2 separate regions of the Homo sapiens genome follow, and region 1 is linked to region 2. Evidence: promoter capture Hi-C in human tissues and cell types (Jung and others, 2019). All regions are on one chromosome and are shown on one strand. Each heading gives the region's core, a stretch centred on a gene start or on the middle of the fragment in contact. The rest is flanking DNA. Distances are from core to core; before and after follow the strand shown. Region 1 has its middle 8.1 kb from the start of TMEM86B. Region 2 holds the start of TNNT1 (troponin T1, slow skeletal type).

Region 1 (6,127 bases), core at 1,032-3,531, 72 kb before region 2:
ACCAGCTCCCTCACCCTGAGGGCCCCGCAGGCCCAGACTCCAAGACCTGCCCCTACTGGCTCTGCTGGGCCAGTGACTCCTCAGACATCAGGGTGCCTGTGGAGGGCCTGGCTGCAGGGACGCAGTACCCCAGCATGTGGGCCCAGAAGCATGAGGTCAACAGCCCCAGCCAGACGCTCACAGAGGCCACGGGCGAGGGGTGAGAGCACTCTGGGCTTGGGGAGTAGGAGGCCTCAGGAGGCCTCTGGCATCGGCCCCACTGATAGGGTGCATCCTTCCAGAGCAAGCAGGGCTGTGGGAAGGAGGGGATGCTTCCCTTTGCTCTGGAGGCCCAGGGACTATGGGGTGTGGTCTGTGAAGCAGGTTCACTGTGCACTGGTTACCAACTTGCCAGAGTGATGAGACAGAACGCCACACGCAAAAAGTTACATGAAGTGGGCTTGTTTCTCACAGATGGGCAGCAAGGGACAGCAGAATCCCAGGGTCCGTTGTAAGCTGGTCCCCCAAGGCTTAGGAAAGTGGCCTAGGGAGGATAGGGTCACAACTGTGTGTGCCTCACTTGTATGGCAGCTGAGGGACCCCAAAAAGTACCCAGCCCTGGGTTTTCTACTCTGGGGGAAACCTGAGTCACCGGGCTCAAGCATTGAAGGGCATCCTGTTTCTAGGGCAGGCAGGAATGGAGCCCAGGCCGCCTGGCCAGTCCCTCCATATCTCCGGATGTTGCATTCCCAGCACATTCTACTGTTACTCTTGAGAACTACAAGTAAGAGACAACTGGGTCTGTTTAAGGCCACTCAGATAACCTTCCTGCAGGAACCCTGACCCCCTTCCCTTCCTTTCCTTACCCGGCCAGGTCATGGATCTGAGGATACAGGCTCAGACCCTGAGTTCTGTTACACTAAGGTGTATATCCCCCCGGGGCCCAGACCCCCACACCTACACCTACTGGGTCCAGTGGGCAGGGACCACGGCCCCCAGTGGGACCAGAAGTGTGGCAGAGATGGGGTTGTGGTGGAGGCCCTGGAATCTGGGGCTTCATAAACCTTCATTGTGTGGGCTGAAAGGCGAGGTGGCTCATGCCTGAAATCCCTGCACTTTGGGAGGCTGAGGCGGGTGGATCACCTGAGGTCAGGAGCTCGAGACCAGCCTGGCCAATACGATGAAACCCTGTCTCTACCAAAAATACAAGAAAATTACCTGGGCGTGGTGGTGCATGCCTGTAATCCTAGCTACTCAGGAGGCTGAGGCAGGAGAATCACTTGAACCCGGGAGGTGGAGGTTGCAGTGAGTCAGGATCGCACCACTGTGCTCCAGCCTGGGCGACGAGCAAAATTCCATCTCAAAAAATAAATAGTCGGTCACGGTGGCTCACGCCTGTAATCCCAGCACTTTGGGAGGCCAAGGCAGGCAGATCATGAGGTCAGGAGTTCAAAACCAGCCTGGACAACATGGTGAAACCCTGTCTCTACTAAAAATACAAAAATCAGGCATGGTGGCACATGACTGTAATCCCAGCTACTCGGGAGCCTGAGGCAGGAGAATCGCTTGAATTCGGGAAGTGGAGGTTGCAGTGAGCCTAGATCGTGCCATTGCACTCTAGCCTGGGTGACAGAGTGAGACTCTGTCTCAAAATAAATAGCCTGGTGTGGTGGCTCACGCCTGTAATCCCAGCACTTTGGGAGGCCGAGGCAAGCAGATCACCTGAGGTTGGGAGTTCGAGACCAGCCTGACCAACAACATGGAGAAACCCCGTCTCTACTAAAAATACAAAACTAGCCGGGTGTGGTGGTGCATGCCTGTAGAATTGCTTGAACCCAGGAGCCGGAGGTTGTGGTGAGCTGAGATCGCACCATTGCACTCCAGCCTGGGCAACAAGAGCGAAACTCCATCTCAAAAATAAAATTAAAAAAAAATAAATTTTCTGCATCTTAGCAGGTTCTCCTGTCTCCCCTCCAGTTTGTACCTCCCTTCCCCAAGAGTGACCAGTCTCCTGATCTTTATCATCGTAAATTAGTGTAGTCTGTCCTTGAAACTTCTCTAAGTGGAATTATACAGTATGTAGTTATTTGATTCTGGCTTTCTTCACTCAACATTGTGGATGAAATGTGGATCCATGCTGGGTGTTTTTATTTTTATTGCTGTGTACTATTTATCGCATGAATGTATTACAACTTATTGTTTCATCCCTCCCTTCATGAACATTTTATGTTTCTAGTTTTGGGATACTATGAATGAAGCTACCATGAACATTTCTGTCCATGTCTTTTGGAGCACACAGGAAGTTTTTTCCCTCAGATGTCTGCCTAGCAGTGGAATCGCTGAGTGATGGTATACGTACCTTAGGCTTTCGTAGTTACTGACAAACCATTTCTCAAAGCAGCTTACCAGTTTACCATCCTGCCAGCAATGTGAGGAAGCTTCATTTGCCCCATATTCTTGCAGATAGTTGGTTGTTCGTCTTTTCCATTTTAGTTCTTCTGCTGCAGTGTTCTGGTGCTTCCTTGTGGTTTAATTTCCATAATGACTAATGAAGTTGAACACATTCCCATTTGTGTGTATGTGTGTGTGTTTGTGGCCATTTGGATATTCTTGGTAAAGTGTCTCTTCAAGTCCATTGCCCATTAAATGGGTCTTCTGCCTTCCTTAATTTGTAGAAAGTCTTTGAAAATATAAAGGGTACAGCTCTTTTGTCAGATGTTTGTGTCACCAAGTGTCATCATGGCCTAGTTTTAACTCAGGGCTCTGCTAAATCACATGGGATCACAGGTGTAGAAGGGTTTGCTTTCCGAGAGGACTGCAGAGATTTCCCCCACTCCCCTGCTCCAGCCTTCCCTTCTCTCATAGAAACAAATGTAGGGAATCTCTCTTTTCTCCTGCAGAGTCCAGGGTTGCTAGAGGACTGAGAAGGGCTGTGCCATGTTTTCTCCTCAGCGCCGAGAGAGACTGGGTTTTCCCTGAAAATGACAAACTTGTCAGGTGTGCCCCCAACAAACGCGTATTCAGCACCGAGGACAGCAATCCCAGGAGCTGCCAGAGCCTACAGGCCCAGAAATGGCTGCAAATGGGCGGAGCCATGCTGTCTGTCCACCTCTCCCTGTGTGATCTGGGGTCGAGCCTTCCTTGCTTTCTGCTGTGGTTTCACCCCTCAGCTTAGACTTTAACAATAGCAGAAGATGATCAGTAAATACGTAAAATGGAGACATGATCAAGGAGGGGAGAGGTGGGGACACGTGTGTGTGAGTTCTGGAAAGACTTTAGGACAGCTTCATCCCTCACCTGGATGCCCTGATGAGCATGGTAGGGAGGAGCCCCACGGTCTGCCTTCCTCACTATCCTACACTTCCTTATTCCAGGACACTGGCAAAAATGATGTGGCCCAGCATGCCCCCCAGAGCTGGCCTCTGTTGGATGCTTCCTGCCTGTGAGATGACAAAGAGCTGTGTGGTTCCTGGTCTTTCTCCCTCCTTGCTTCTGACCATGAACACAGAAAGGTCGCTAGCACCCTTGGATCTTGGAAGAGGGAAAGACAGGAACTCCACAGTCCTTTCCCCTGAGCTACCAAAGCATTCTTCCCCTGCCTCAAGTCAGCATCATTTGGGGAATGGAGCTGAGAAAATTTATTCTGGGTGTGGAAGAAGGAATCTACCAAACCCAATGCTCCCTGGGTTCTGAGCAGTGGGGGTGGGGTTGGGATTGTGCCATAGTTTTGAATCAATACTTTGAAAGCACTTTGGGGCCGGGTGCGGTGGCTCATGCCTGTAATCCCAGCACTTCAGGAGGCTGAGGTGGGCAGATAACAAGGTCAGGAGATCGAGACCATCCTGGCTAACACGGTGAAACCCCGTCTCTACTAAAAATACAAAAAATTAGCCAGGCATGGTGGCGGCTACTCGGGAGGCTGAGACAGGAGAATGGTGTGAACCCGGGAGGCAGAGCTTGCAGTGAGCCGAGATCACGCCACTGCACTCCAGCCTGGGCGACAGAGTGAGACTCTGTCTCAAAAAAAAAAAAAAAGAGAAAAAAGAAAAAAGAAAGCACTTTGGGAGGCCAAGACAGGTGGATCACTTGAGGTCAGGAGTTCCAGACCAGCCTGGCCCATATGGCGAAACCCCATCTCTACTGAAAATACAAAAATTAGCTGGGCATGGTGGTGGGCGCCAGTAATCCCAGCTACTCAGGAGGGTGAGGCAGGATAATCGCTTGAATCCGGGAGGTGGAGGTTGCAGTGAGCCAAGATCGTGCCATTGCACTGCAGCCTGGGTGACAGAGTGGGACTTTGTCTAAAACAAAACAAAAAACACTAACAGATGAATCTACCTGGGGAAGTATGTCTTTTTCAGGGGGCATAAAGCTCATCCCTGCTATTATGAACTGAATTTCATCCTCCTTCAAAAATTTGTAAGTTGGCGTCCCAACCTCCAGTACCTCAGAATGTGATTGTATTTGGAGACAGGGTCTTTGAAGAGGTGATTAAGATAAAATGAGGTCACTTTGAGATGCTGAGGCAGATGGATTGCTTGAGCCCAGGAGTTTGAAATCTTCCTGGGCAGCACGGTGAGAACCCCATCTCCCCAGATTTTTTTTTAATTAGCCAAGCTGGGCATGGTGGCTCACGGCTGTAATCCCAGCACTTTGAGACGCAGAGGCAGGTGGATCACTTGAGGTCAGGAGTTCAAGACCAGCCTGGCCAACATGGTGAAACCCTGTCTCTACTTAAAAATAAAAAAATTAGGCCAGGCATGGTGGCTCACGCCTGTAATCCCAGCACTTTGAGAGGCCGAGGCGGGTGGATCACCTGAGGTCAGGAGTTCAAGACCAGCCTGGCCAACATGGTGAAACCCCATCTCAACTAAAAATACAAAAAAATTAGGTGGGTGTGGTGGCAGGCACCTGTAATCCCAGCTACTCAGGAGGCTGAGGCAGGAGAATCTCTTGAATACGGGAGGCAGAGGTTGCAGTGAGCTGAGATCATGCCATTGCACTCCAGCCTGGGCGACGAGCAAAACTCTGTCTCAAAAAAAAAAAAAAAATAGCCGGGTATGGTGGTGGGCACCTGTAATCCCACCTACTCAGGAGGCTGAGGCAGGAGAATCGCTTGAACCTGGTAGGCAGAGGTTGCAGTGAGCCGAGATCGCGGGACTGCACTCCAGCCTTGGCAACAGAGCAAGACTCGGTCTAAAATAAATAAATAAATATATATATACATTATATATATATACACATTATATATATATACATTATATATATATACACATTATATATATATACATTATATATATACACATTATATATATATACATTATATATATACACATTATATATATATACATTATATATATACACATTATATATATATACATTATATATACACACATATATATACATTATATATATATACACATATATATACATTTTATATATATATACATTATATATATATATATATATATATATATATATATATATATATATATATATATATGTAAGCCAGGCATGGTGATGTGCCACTGTAGTCCCAGCTACTCAGGAGGCTGAGGTGGGAGGATCACTTGAGCCCAGGATGTAGAGGCTGCAGTGAGCTGTGTTCGTACCACTGCACTCCAGCCTGGGAGACAGAGTGAGATGCTGTCTCAAAAAAAAAAAAAAAAAAGTCACACTAAGGTGGGCCATAATCCAACCTGACTGGTGTCCTTATCAGAAGAGGAGGTTAGGACACAGACACATGGAGGACAAGGGAGAACACGGCCATTTGCAAGCCAAGGAGAAAGAGGCCTCAGGAGGAACCAACCCTGCCCACATTTTCATCTTGGACCTCCAGCCTCCAGAACGGTGGGAAAACAAATCTCTGCTGTTTGGGTCACCTAGTCTATGCTCTTTGTTGTAGTAGCCCTAGCAAACGAATATACCAGTTTTTATGGAAAACCACACAGCGCCCAGATTCCTGGGTTCCGAACAATGGGGGATGGAATTTTCTCATAGTTTTTGTTTTGTTTTGTTTTGTTTTTGTTTTTTCTTTTTTTGAGACGGAGTCTCGCTCTGTCGCCCAGGCTGGAGTGCAGTGGCACGATCTTGACTCACCGCAGCCTCCACCTCCGGGTTCAAGCTATTCTCCTGCCTCAGCCTCCCG
Region 2 (6,320 bases), core at 3,487-5,986:
GGAGTTGGAGGTAGAAGCAGCTAGTAAGGGGTCCTCAGAAATGCAAGAGGAAGACAGGAAGTAGAAGGGGAAGACAGGAAGTGCATTAGGGCTACAGGAAGTCCATGTAAGAGCAAAGAGGTACATGAAGGTCCAGGTGCAGTGGCTTATGCCTGTAATCTTTGAGGTTTAAAAAAAATTTTTTTTTAATTTCCTTTTTTTTTTTTTTTTGCGATGGAGTCTCTGCTGCCCAGGCTGGAGTGCAATGACACCATCTCGGTTGCTGGAGTGCAGTGACACCATCTCGGCTCACTGCAACCTCTGCCTCCCAGGATCAAGTGATTCTCATGCCTCAGCCTCCCGAGTAGCTGGGACTACAGGTGCACACCACCATGTTGTTGTTTTAATTTCTACAAATTTCTTTTTTAAATTAGCCAGTCACGGTGGTGGCATGCAGCTTCTCAGGAGGCTGAGGCAGGAAAATCGCTTGAGCCCATGAGATCGAGGGTGCAGTGAGCTATGACTGCACCACTGCACTCCAGCCTGGGCAATACAGTGAGACCCTATCTTAAAGAAGAAGACAGGAAAGATAGGAGTGGATGCCTGAAACCATGGATTGTACTGAACCCTATATGTAATTTTTTTTCCTATACACACATACATACCTATGATAAAGTTTCATTTCTAAATTAGACACAGTAAGAGATTAACAATAAATAACAACAAAAGAAGGTTGGGCGTGGTGGCTCATGCCTGTAATCTCAACACTTTGGGATGCTAAGGCAGGCAGATTGCTTGAGCTCTGGAGTTCGAGACCAGCCTGGGCAACATGGCGAGACCATGTCTCTATAAAAAATACCAAAGTTACCGGGTGTGGTGGCTCGTGCCTGTAATCCCAGCGCTTTGGGAGGCCAAGGCGGGCGGATCATGAGGTCAGGAGTTTGAGACCAGCCTGGCCAACACAGTGAAACCCCACCTGTAGTAAAAATACAAACATTTGCTGGGCGTGGTCGTGGGTGCCTGTAATCCCAGCTACTTGTGAAGCTGAGGCAGGAGAATTGCTTGAACCCGGGAGGCAGAGGTTGCAGTGAGCCGAGATCTCACCACTGCACTCCAGCCCAGGCAACACTGGGAGACTCCATCTCAAAACAAAACAAAACAGAACAAAAGTTAGCTGGGCATGGTGGCACACACCTGTGGTCCCAGCTCCTCAGGAGTCTGAGGTGAGAGGATGGCTTGAGCCCAGGAAGTTGAGGCTGCAGTGAGCCGAGATTGCACGACTGCACTCCAGCTTGGATGAGGCAGCCAGACCCTGTCTCAAATAATAATAATAATAAAATAGAACAATTATAACAGATTGTAATAAAACTCATGAATGTGGTCTCTTTCTCAAAATATCTTATAGCACTGTAATCACCCTTCTTTTCCTTGTGATGTAAAATGACAGTGCCTATGTGCTGAGATGAGGTGAGGTGGATGACATAGGCATTATGACCTGGCGTTAGGCTACTATTGACCTGAGAATCCATCAAACTTATGAATTGTTTATTTCTGGAATTTTCCATTTAATATTTTTGGGCCATGGTTTACCTCAGGTAACTGAAACCACACAAAGTAAAATTGCAGAAAAGGAGGGACTACTATAATAAGAAGAGAAGGAAGGAGACAGGAAGGGCATAAGGCAGACAGGAAGTGGAGGGGAAAGATAGGAAGTGCAGGAAGGAGACAGGAAGTGGAGGGGAAAGACAGGAAGTGCATGAGGGAGACAGGAAGTGGATGGGGAAAGACAGAAAGTACATGAGGGAGACAGGAAGTGCTGGGGAAAGACAGGAAGTGCATGAGGGGGACAGGAAGTGCATGAGGGAGACAGGAAGTGCATGGGGAAAATTGGCAGGGATTATCTTGAAAAGACAGGAAGTGCTCCAGAACTAGATACTTAGGCATCCAGGGTAGAGTGGCCCCACAGGCTGGAGGGAAGACAGGGATTCTTGAGAGACTGGAGACCAAGAAGAGACCCTAACCTCTGACTCATCGCCATCCTCCAGGAAAACCGGGAGGTGGGAGACTGGCGCAAGAACATCGATGCACTGAGTGGAATGGAGGGCCGCAAGAAAAAGTTTGAGAGCTGAGCCTTCCTGCCTACTGCCCCTGCCCTGAGGAGGGCCCTGAGGAATAAAGCTTCTCTCTGAGCTGAAAGTGACTCCATGTCTATTACCCAGGGCTTAGGCAGGAGACAGATGGGAAGACTGCAGGTGGGGCTCCCCCAAAGCCACACAGCAGGTTGGGGACCAGATGGGTCTCCCATGTGAAGCACTCTTGGCTGTGTTATTGAAAAGAATCCCGGGGTTCATGAATTTGGAGAGCGGAGCTTTGTTTCTTAAGAAGCGGATCACAACCTGAAGACCAGAAGCATGGCTTCTTGCCAAAAAACAAAAGCAGGCACTTTAAGGGAGGGAAGGGCAAGGCAGGAATTTATGCTGAGTGGGTTAGCTAAGTGCACGTATTCAACTGGTTATAGAAGGAGCTATGAATATTCATGGACAGGTGGACACATGGACACACGCATGTGTGACAAGCAAACACTCATTTTTTTTTTTTTTTGAGACGGAGTCTTGCTCTGTCACCCAGGCTGGAGTGCAGTGGCACGATCTCAGCTCACTGCAACCTCTGCGTCCTGGGTTCAAGCCATTCTCCTGCCTCAGCCTCTCCAGTAGCTGGGATTACAGGCATGCACCACCACGCCCAGCTAATTTTTGTGTTTTTCGTAGAGACGGGGTTTCACCATGTTGGCCAGGCTGGTCTCGATTTCCTGACCTCGTGATCCGCCCTCCTTGGCCTCCCAAAGTGCTGGGATTACAGGCGTGAGCCACCGCGACTGGCCGCAAACACATTTTACATGCATCCCACCTTCACTTGGTGGTGGAGGCTTAACATTTAAGTGCATTCCATTGAATGCATTCGTATCGAAACACGAAGCAGGGATATGAAGACACTCAGTGCACAGCCTCTGTCAACAGCCAGAACCAGTCCGTGGTCTGCGGCATCTTATCAGGAGAAAGTTACTGAAATCAGTCTCTTGTTCAACTAATGCTGTAGTTATGCCTTGTGGAACAGGGGGTTCAGCTAGTCAGCATCTGGCAATGGATGGCTGCAATGGTTGTAATATTGCTTATCTTGAGGCCGGTGCTTGTTTAGCTGCTAGAAAAAGGAAAAGCCTTGTGGCAGTTGGAACATAGTCGATTATATAAGTGTAGGGATGCGTGGCTTAACCCTTGCCTGGCATGGCCTTAGGTCTTGTTTATAATTTGGTATCTTATTGCCACAAACAGTTCATTCCATCAGTCTTCTGATCTCTATTGTCACAGCTCCTCTGGCCCATGTGGAGTGCACAGAGATGCCAAGACTAAAGGTCAAAGAGAGAGAGACACAGAGAAACAGACAGGCAGAGAGACATGACCGACAACAGAGAGACTGAGTTGGGAGTAGAGAGAGTAGGAGCCAGGCAAAGACCCAAAGAGAGAGGGAGAAAATACCACAAGATGCATAGAAGGAAGTGCAAAGAAAGGAGAAAAGAGAGACAGAGATATACTCACAGCAAGGTGCAGAGACATGGAGACCCTATAAGAGATGGAAATGGAGAGCCACAGAGGGGGAACTGCGGGCACTAAGAGAGACATGGAGAGAACTAGAAAGATAGAGACGTGAACACAGACACAGAGACCCAGAGCCAAAAAGAGACAGAAATGGGGTCATAGGTGGACAGAAATGCACAGAGAGACTGTGAGCCCCCACAGACACAAACGCTGAGAGGGGCAGACATGCAGAGACACCCACAGAAATGCAGAGACAAAACCACCCGGAGACACATGCCGAGAAACACACTGAGGGGCTCAGAAAGCGACAGATGCAGAGAGAGCCCAAGACAGACCCAGCAAGGGGCCCCGAGAAATGCACAGAAACACAAAGACCGAGACCACCAGAGACAGAGGTACGGAGAGGCGGGGAGGGTGAGGAAGCCTGCTCTCCAGGGCTGGCTTGAACCTAGAACTCAAGGTCATGGCTTGGCTGGGAAGCGGGAGGGGGATACCAAAAAAGATCAGCGTTAGATGGAGGTGGGGAGGGAGGGTAGGTTTCACCCTAATTGACACCCCACCCTCCCCCTCCCCCTCCCCACACCTGCTTCCCGGCTTTAGTGCCTGTTGTCACCAGGATGGAATCCTGGCGGCAGACAAAGGGGTGGGGGTGGGAGGAGGAGACAAAAAGATGGACAGAGACAGAGGAGGAGACTAAGAAGTAGAGACAGACACACAGAGACACACAGATGGAGAGCCACAGAGACAACAGAAATGGGGGTCCAGAAAGAGACCTAGATAGAAAGAGGGAACAGAGAGAAGAAAACAGGAAACATTCCTTATAGCCCATGTGTCATTAGTAGGTCCTCCAAGGACCTACTGTGTGCCGGGCATGGGGACGTCAAAGCACAGGGAGCTATAAGGGAGGTAGTTGGAGCACCACGGGAGCCTGGGGTGTGGGGTGGGAGCAGGGGCGGGGCTCCTGGGCCATGCAGATGGGGTTGGCATGGGGTTGGGGAGGGGCCCACGGAGGCTTCTGGACTCTGAGTGTGGAGCCAGGGGCAGCAGGGCTGTCTCTGAACTCCCAGGCTTGTGTTTGAGCAAAGGAATTCTCTCCCCCTCCCTCTCCCCTCGGGGCGGGCCCGAGCCTCCAGCTATAAACTCCCCGGAGCTTCAGTGCCCTCAGCAAGGCTCAGCCTCAAGATTCACAGCATCTCAGACACAGCCTAGGTAAGGGGCTCTGCGGAGCCCTGTGGTCTTCAAAAACCATGTCCTTGGGGGAGGGGGCAGGAGGCAGGTGGGGAAGATGTCGGGTGTGGAGAAATGGTGCAGAGGTAGGTGGGGCATACAACTGGAGGTCTGGGAACTTGAGAGGCTCAGACTTTAGGGGGACTCAGGATAGAGGGGAAAATACTAGGATTTGTGGGTTACACAAATCCTAACCCGGGGCTGCCAGGACTTGGATGTCCCAGAATAAAACCTCCTAGGATCTTGGGGTTCTGGGAATCTGGGGGAAATCTCAGCAGTCAGGGATATCTGGACTTGGAGGTCAAACAATCTGGGTGTCAGGATTTGGGGCCTCAGACTCTGAGGGTATCAGGAATTGGGGGGGTCTCAGAAGAAATTGGGGTTTTGGTAGTGGAGGGCTCGGAATCTGAGACATTATGATAGAAAGCATGAAAACTTAGAGTGCCATTATCTGGGGTATCATGAACTGGGCCTCCGAGTTTGGGTATCAAGATTTTGGGGGTCTCATATTCTTGAGGTTTCAGATTTTAGGAGGTCTCAAGACCTGGGGGTGGTCTTAGGATGTCCCGGCCCATATCTGGACTATCAAGAACTGGGATTTCAGAATCCAGAGCTGTGAGGACTTGCTGGCCTCAGAAACACGGGCATCATAAATCGGGGTCTCAGAATCTGTGGGTATTGGGATTTGGGGCTAGGCACCCTGTGGCCTAGGGTGTCTCAAAGACTTTGAGGTCTAAGAATGTAGGGGTCAGGGTGAGGTCTACGGACAGAAGGTGCCCTTTATGCCCCTGCCCCCTACGTGATGTATGGGAAGGTGAAAGGGGAGACAGGTGGGGAGGAAACCAGCCAGTGGGGTGGGGCGAGTGGGAGAGGGGATGCGGGTGACTAATTCTCCCAGAAGCCCCCCTTCCTCAAATCCCTTCTTAGGAAATGTCCTCGGTTTCACCATCTATGACATCCCCCCAAAATAGCTCCTGGGGGTGGGGCAGCTATTGTCTTCAGGCCACTGTCCCTTCTCAAATGCCTCTTCCTAATCCCAACTGGATCAGGTTCCCATGGACTTGTCATAAGACAAAAGAGGACAGCTGTGCTGAGGGGGCAGGGTCTGCAGCCTCCTGGCTGTGCCAGGACCACACCTACCAAGGTCTGTCCTCATGCATGCTTTAGGACAGCCGGCCCCCTCCCTCAGACCCAAGAGTCCAGACCTGAGCCCTCCTCCCTCAGACGCAGGAGTACAGGCCCCCAGCCCGCTCCTCCCTCAGACTCAGGAGTCTAGACTCCCAGCCTCTCCTCCCTTAGATCCAGGAGTCCAGGCCCCAGCTCCTCCTCCCTCAGACCCAGGAGGCCAGGCCCCCAGACCCTCCTCCCTCAGACCCAGGCGTCCAGGCCCGCGGCCCCTCCTCCCTCAGACCCAGGCGTCCAGGCCCCTGGCCCCTCCTCCCTCAGATCCAGGAGTCCAGACCCCAGCCCCTCCTCCCTCAGACCCAGGTGTCCAGGACAACCCATCTCAGTCTCAGGAGT

Evidence for each region. Contacts are between HindIII fragments. The study calls those that stand out against the background at their distance.
Region 1: a contact is called between a fragment that was not itself captured here and the fragment with the promoter of TNNT1 in region 2, in 4 of the 25 tissues and cell types used here (IMR-90 fibroblasts, lymphoblastoid cells, mesendoderm cells and 1 more).

Annotation. Positions count from the first base shown.
Region 1 is chr19:55,217,637-55,223,763 of GRCh38, reverse strand. No RefSeq gene overlaps it. Among named protein-coding and RNA genes, the nearest start is that of TMEM86B, 8.1 kb to the left of the region's middle. RefSeq lists a silencer at 5,629-5,815. The HindIII fragment of the contact is 5,464 bases long and covers 1-5,013 here.
Region 2 is chr19:55,147,622-55,153,941 of GRCh38, reverse strand. TNNT1 (troponin T1, slow skeletal type) reads left to right here and starts at 4,736. Exons shown (of 14, transcript NM_003283.6): 1 at 4,736-4,781. TNNI3 (troponin I3, cardiac type) reads left to right here. Exons shown (of 8, transcript NM_000363.5): 8 at 2,025-2,175. The coding sequence ends at 2,108. The HindIII fragment of the contact is 19,018 bases long and covers 1-6,320 here.